Linked DNA regions of Homo sapiens: region 2 is linked to region 1. Evidence: promoter capture Hi-C in human tissues and cell types (Jung and others, 2019). All regions are on one chromosome and are shown on one strand. The core of a region is centred on a gene start or on the middle of the fragment in contact, and the rest is flanking DNA. Distances in the headings are between cores, read along the strand shown. Region 1 overlaps ZGPAT (zinc finger CCCH-type and G-patch domain containing). Region 2 holds the start of SRMS (src-related kinase lacking C-terminal regulatory tyrosine and N-terminal myristylation sites).

Region 1 (3,132 bases), core at 514-3,013:
GATCAAGACCATCCTGGCTAACACGGTGAAACCCCATCTCTCCTAAAAATACAAAAAATTAGGTGGGCGTGGTGGCAGGCGCCTGTAATCCCAGCTACTCGGGAGGCTGAGGCAGGAGAATGGCGTGAACCCGGGAGGCGGAGCTCGCAGTGAGCCGAGATCGTGCCACTGCACTCCAGCCTGGGAAACAAGAGCGAGACCCCATCTCAAAAAAAAAAAAAAAAAGAAATTCTAAATGGGCTGGGCGTGGTGGCTCATGGTAATCCCAGCATTTTGGGAGGCCAGGACAGGCAGATCATGAGGTCATGAATTCGAGACCAGCCTGGCCAACATAGTGAAACCCTGTCTCTACTAAAAATACCAAAAAAATTGGCTGGGGGTGGTGGCAGGTGCCTGCAGTCTCAGCTACTTGGGAGGCTGAGGCAGGAAAATCACTCTAACCAGGGAGGCAGAGGTTGCAGTGATCTGAGACTGCACCATTGCACTCCAGCCTGGGCAACACAGTGAGACTTTGTCTCAAAAAAAAAAAAAAAAAATTCTAAATGAAGTTCTTCAGACTAAAAGGAAATGACACTAGACAGTAACTCAAATTCACAGGAAAGAAAAAGGGGCAAAAAAAAGAAAGGTAAAATATGGATGATACAAAAAAACAAGTATACTTTTTTTCTCTTTGAATTTCTTTCTTTTTTAAATAGAGATGGAGTCTCGCTATGTTGCCCAGGCTGGTGTTGAACTCCTGGCCTCAAGTGATCCTCCTGCCTTGGCCTCCCAAGGCTTTGGGATTACAGGCATGAACCACAGTGTCCAGATCTTAATTTCTTTTCTTTTCTTTTTTTTTTTTTTTTTAGGCAGAGTCTCGCTCTGTCATCTAGGCTGTAATGCAGTGGTGCGATCTTGCTCACTGCAACCTCCGCTTCCCAGGTTCAAGCGATTCTCTTGCCTCAGCCTCCCGAGTAGCTGGGATTACAGACACCCACCACCACACCCGGCTACTTTTTGTATTTTTAGTAGAGACGGGGTTTCACCATGTTGGCCAGGCTGGTCTTAAACTCCTGACCTCCGGTGATCCACTCACCTCAGCCTCCCAAAGTGCTGGGATTAGAGATAAAAGCCACCATTCCTAGTCCCTTTACTTCTGAGATAAGATCTGCACCCAGGCTGGAGTGCAGTGGCACAATCTCAGCTCACTGCAGCCTTGACTTCCCAGGCTCAAGTGATCCTCCCACCTTAGCTGGGATCCTCCCCCAAATAGCTGGGACTACAGGCGCGTGCCACCATGCCAGACTAATTTTTTGTAATTTTGGTGGAGATGGGTTTCGTCATGTTGCCCAGGCTGGTCTCCAACTCCCTGGCTCAGGCGATCTGCCCACCTCAGCCCCCAAAAGTGCTGGAGTTAAAGGCATAAGCCACTGCCTCCAGGCAACTTCTTTCAAAATACTTTTGAAGCAATAATTATAACGCTGAAGAGCTGAAGTTATAACATACATAAATGTATATATGGCAATAATACATGAAGGAGAAGAGGGGATGGAGCTATGTCAGAGGAGAAGGGAGGATGGAGCTATGTCAGAGGACAAGGGAGGATGGAACTATGTCAGAGGAGAAGGGAGGATGGAGCTATGTCAGAGGAGAAGGGAGGATGGAGCTATGTCAGAGGAGAAGGGAGGATGGAGCTATGTCAGAGGAGAAGGGAGGATGGAGCTATGTCAGAGGAGAAGGGAGGATGGAGCTATGTCAGAGGAGAAGGGAGGATGGAGCTATGCCAGAGGAGAAGGGAGGATGGAGCTGTGTCATAGGAGAAGGGAGGATGGAGCTGTGTCATAGGAGAAGGGAGGATGGAGCTGTGTCATAGGAGAAGGGAGGATGGAGCTGTGTCATAGGAGAAGGGAGGATGGAGCTGTGTCATAGGAGAAGGGAGGATGGAGCTATGCCAGAGGAGAAGGGAGGATGGAGCTGTGTCAGAGGAGAAGGGAGGATGGAGCTATGACACAGGAGAAGGGAGGATGGAGCTATGTCAGAGGAGAAGGGAGGATGGAGCTGTGTCATAGGAGAAGGGAGGATGGAGCTATGTCAGAGGAGAAGGGAGGATGGAGCTGTGTCATAGGAGAAGGGAGGATGGAGCTATGCCAGAGGAGAAGGGAGGACGTCATAGGAGGAGGGAGGATGGAACTATGTCAGAGGAAAAGGGAGGTTGGGACTGTGCTATAGGAAAATGGAGGGGGAACTATGTCATAGTACAACGGAAGTAGATCTATGTTATAGACACGTTGCCATACTTAGGCTCAGTGCAGTCGCTCACACCTGTAATCCCAGCACTTTGGGAGGCCAAGATGGGCGGATCACCTGAGGTCAGCAGTTCGAGACCAGCCTGACCAACATGGTGAAACCTCATCTCTACTAAAAATACAAAATTAGCCGGGTGTGGTGGGGGTGCCTGTAGTCCCAGCTACTCAGGAGGCTGAGGCAGGAGAATGGCGTGAACCTGGGAGGCGGAGGTTGCAGTGAGCCGAGATCACACCATTGCACTCCAGCCTGGGTGACAGAGTGAAACTCCATAAAAAAAAAAATGCTGTACTTTAAGTGTTAAGTTAGTAATAATCTGAAGTACATTGTGGTAAGTTAAAGATGTACATTGTCATCTCTAGAGCAACCACTAAGAAAATAACTTAAAACAGCATAGCTAAAAATTCAGCAACAGAGCTGGATATCACCAAAATGATGGAGTTGGCAGCTCCAAAGATCCGTCTCTCCAGCAAAGCAACTATTCTGCTGTCAAAACTGTCACAATAAACTTTTTTCTATTCAGCTGTCAAAACTGTCACAATAAACTTTTTTCTATTAAACTGTCAAAACCTCCCAATAAACTTTTCTGTAACTCTGGTGTCTACGAACCAGATGACTGCTCAATGAAGTAAGACCCTGCTAAATTTCAGGAGGACAGCTGGGCTATTTCTGCTCAGCCACTACTACCAGCTCACATGTAGCCATGGGGAAGGCAACCTGTATTTCTGATGTGGCTTGCTGGTGTCAGAAGGGATGATACAGACCTTTTCTCAAGGAATCCTGCTTATGCATTTGGATCTTTCTAGTGTCTCCCTGAAGGGCTTGCCTTTGTTTCACCCCCTCGAACTC
Region 2 (3,219 bases), core at 676-3,175, 180 kb after region 1:
GGGGCTCTGCGGCCTTGGCGTTCTAGCGGGGAAGAGTCACGTCCTAGGGAGGATTTGGGAGAGCTGGTAGCCACACCTGTAGTCCCAGCACTTTGGGAGGCAGGAGGATCGCTTGAGGCCAAGAGTTCAAAACCGGCCTGGGCAACATAGTGAGAGCCCATCTCTACAAATAATAAAAAATTTATCTGGGCATGGTGGCGCACACCTGTAGTCCGGCAGGAGGACGGCTTGAGCCCAGGAGATCGAGGCTGCCACTGCACTCCAGCCTGGGCGACAGAGTGAGACCCTGTTTCCAAAAAAAAAGTAAAGAAAAGAAATGGTGGGCAAAAGCCTCACCTGCACGTGAGGAGACGGCGGTGGGTGTGGGGAGGAGACGGCGGCGGGGGGAGTGGAGGGGAGGAGACGGCGGGGGTGGGTTGTGGGGAGGAGACGGCGTCGGGGGCGGGAGGAGACGGGCAGCGGGTGGGGGGAGGAGAGGGCGGCGGGGGCGGGAGGAGAGGGCGGCGGGGGGAAGCGCGGGAGGAGAAGGCGCTGGGGCCCCTCGAAGGCCACCCCCAATGTAGTATTTACAATTCTCCACATTTCTCAACACCCCCCACCACCCCCAGCAGGGCACCTCTCTGGTGCAGAGCCTGCCCTGAGCCTGGCGATGTCCAGTCTCCCAGGGCCCCTGCTGGCTCCAGGCTATCAGCCCGGACACAGCTTGGCTGCTGGGGTGCCCTGAGAGCCAGGCCACGGGTGTCACTGCCACCCCACAATGCACACACCAGTCCCCAGACGTGAGGTTTCTGAGAAGCCCATCTGTGACTCCAGGGCAGGCAGGTGCGAGGGGCTTGTCATTGGCTGGACACTGGTCACGCCTATTGGAGGGATGCATTCAGCCACACGCATGAAGTGGGGGCATGGATGCGTGTGAGATGTGGGAAAGGGGCGTGAGGCTCCCTGAAGGCCACCCAGGTGCGGAAGGGGCTGCTGGGGGAGGCCGGCAGGAGGAGTGAGAGACTGCAGATGGCCTCACCCCACCCCCGTGCCTCAGGACCCAGAGGGGAGGTGGGAGGAGTGAGAGACTGCAGATGGCCCCCACCCCACCCCACTCAGGACCCGGAGGGGATGTGGGAGGAGAGAGAGACTGCAGATGGCCACCACCCCATCCTCCTGCCTCAGGACCCTGTACCGTGCTGCTGGGTTTTGCTGGGATTTGCTCCCCCAGTCCTGCCCCGATCTGGGGACCTACCTGAGCGGGCAGAGTTTGCTTCAGCATGCGGGGGCTTGGCGCTGTCCAGGGAGAGGGTGGGAGGTCCCCAGCCAGGGACTCACCCGCCGCCCCTTCTCCGTGTGCTCATCCCCCTGAACTGGGGCCAGGCGTCCGCAGCCTCCACTTCCCCGCAGTGGCCTTTGGGTATGGCCTGGGCATTGACTGACTCAGAAGCCGGTCATCGGGCAGCATGGGGCATCTGGGTGCCTGGCCTGCGGCCGAGCTCCCTGCAATCAGCATCTCGTTTTACTGCATGAAAGCCGGGGTGCTGAGAGCCCCCTCACTCGCCTGTCCTCAGAATTTACTGCAGAGGCCGGAGGCTCGGCACCTGGTGCAGGGTTAATGATGTTAAAATATCTGGCCAACACTTAAATAAGCAGGCAATTTTTCACCTGAGTGCAGCTCAGGCTTGGCAACCACTGCAGGTGCTGAACAGCAGCGCTTCTCCGTGGAACCCCCACTTCTCCGTGGGCACGGGCGGCTGTTGGACTGTGGTGCCCTTGGGCATGGGCCAGGCCTGACTGGGCAGAGCCATTCCGCCTGCCTGGGCCTTGCAGAGGGCGGGAGAGAGGCTGGCCCTGCCCACCCCGCCCTCCTCGGGCCCCTCCTGGAGCCCGCCCCCGCCCCAGCCCAAGCTGCCCTCTGCCGTCGGGTTGGGGAGGGGACGGTGCACTCCAGACGCCAAGGAGGTCGAGGACAGGAGGTGCTGTCGGTGTGCCTGAGGCAGGGGGTCCGCCCTGCGCCCCACCCAGCCCCAACGCCAGCCCGGACGCCGGTGGGAACCGTGTGCCTCCTGGATCCAGGGGACCTCTGAGTGACCGCAGGGCCGGGGTCCCCTGTCACCCCACGGCCAGGGCAGGGAGCGCTGGACACCGGGTCCCACCGGCCCTGCCAGTTCCTCTTCCGGGCTCGCGGGCTCCCATGGCCCTCGGGCCCAGCGTGGTGACCCCGGGGGATGGAGCCGTTCCTCAGGAGGCGGCTGGCCTTCCTGTCCTTCTTCTGGGACAAGATCTGGCCGGCGGGCGGCGAGCCGGACCATGGCACCCCCGGGTCCCTGGACCCCAACACTGACCCAGTGCCCACGCTCCCCGCCGAGCCTTGCAGCCCCTTCCCTCAGCTCTTCCTTGCGCTCTATGACTTCACGGCGCGGTGTGGCGGGGAGCTGAGTGTCCGCCGCGGGGACAGGCTCTGTGCCCTCGAAGAGGGGGGCGGCTACATCTTCGCACGCAGGCTTTCGGGCCAGCCCAGCGCCGGGCTCGTGCCCATCACCCACGTGGCCAAGGCTTCTCCTGAGACGCTCTCAGACCAACCGTGAGTACCTCGGCCTCGGAGTCAGAGCCTGCCTCGCCCCCAGCTGGGGAGTCCAGAACAACGGCAGGATTTTGAGTTGGAAATCGCATGTCCGTGGCTATCTGTTCATTCATTCGTTCATCCACGCATTCATTCAGGGACAGCTGATGGGCCCCGGGCCGGCAGGTGTGGTAGGAAAACAGCAGTGTCCGCTGTGGGCTGCCGAGAGGGAGAGGAGGCTCCGGCAGGCGTGGTCAGGTCCTGTGGGGGGGAGCATCAGCTGCACCAGCTGGACACCCAGCAGGCGGTTCCTCCAGGACCCTGCCTGGCTGGCCAGGCCCTCCCGCCCTCACACAGGGAGTCCAGTGTTCATGGATCGGTCACTGCTTGGAGGGCAGGGGCTGGGGGCTGGGAGGCACCAGATGACAGGAGCTCCAGGAGCTCTGGGTGACGGCAGGTGAGCAGGGGCTGGGGGCTGGGGGCTGAGACAGGGGCCCATGCTCCAGGAACTCTGGGTGAGGGCAGGTGAGCAGGGGCTGGGGGCTGAGACGGGCCCACGCTCCAGGAGCTCTGGGTGAAGGCAGGTGAGCAGGGGCTGGGACTGGGGGCTGAGACAGGGGCCCACGCTCCAGGAGCTCTGGGTGAGGGCAGGTGAGCAGGGGTTGCAGAGGCGC

The links. Contacts are between HindIII fragments. The study calls those that stand out against the background at their distance.
Region 2: a contact is called between the fragment with the promoter of SRMS here and a fragment that was not itself captured in region 1, in 1 of the 25 tissues and cell types used here (lymphoblastoid cells).

What each region holds. Positions count from the first base shown.
Region 1 is chr20:63,722,078-63,725,209 of GRCh38, reverse strand. The region is part of intron 2 of ZGPAT (zinc finger CCCH-type and G-patch domain containing); the gene reads right to left. Among named protein-coding and RNA genes, the nearest start is that of LIME1, 13 kb to the left of the region's middle. The HindIII fragment of the contact is 9,604 bases long and covers 1-3,132 here.
Region 2 is chr20:63,546,455-63,549,673 of GRCh38, reverse strand. SRMS (src-related kinase lacking C-terminal regulatory tyrosine and N-terminal myristylation sites) reads left to right here and starts at 1,925. Exons shown (of 8, transcript NM_080823.4): 1 at 1,925-2,566. The coding sequence starts at 2,211. RefSeq lists an enhancer at 2,211-2,852. The HindIII fragment of the contact is 18,378 bases long and covers 1-2,356 here.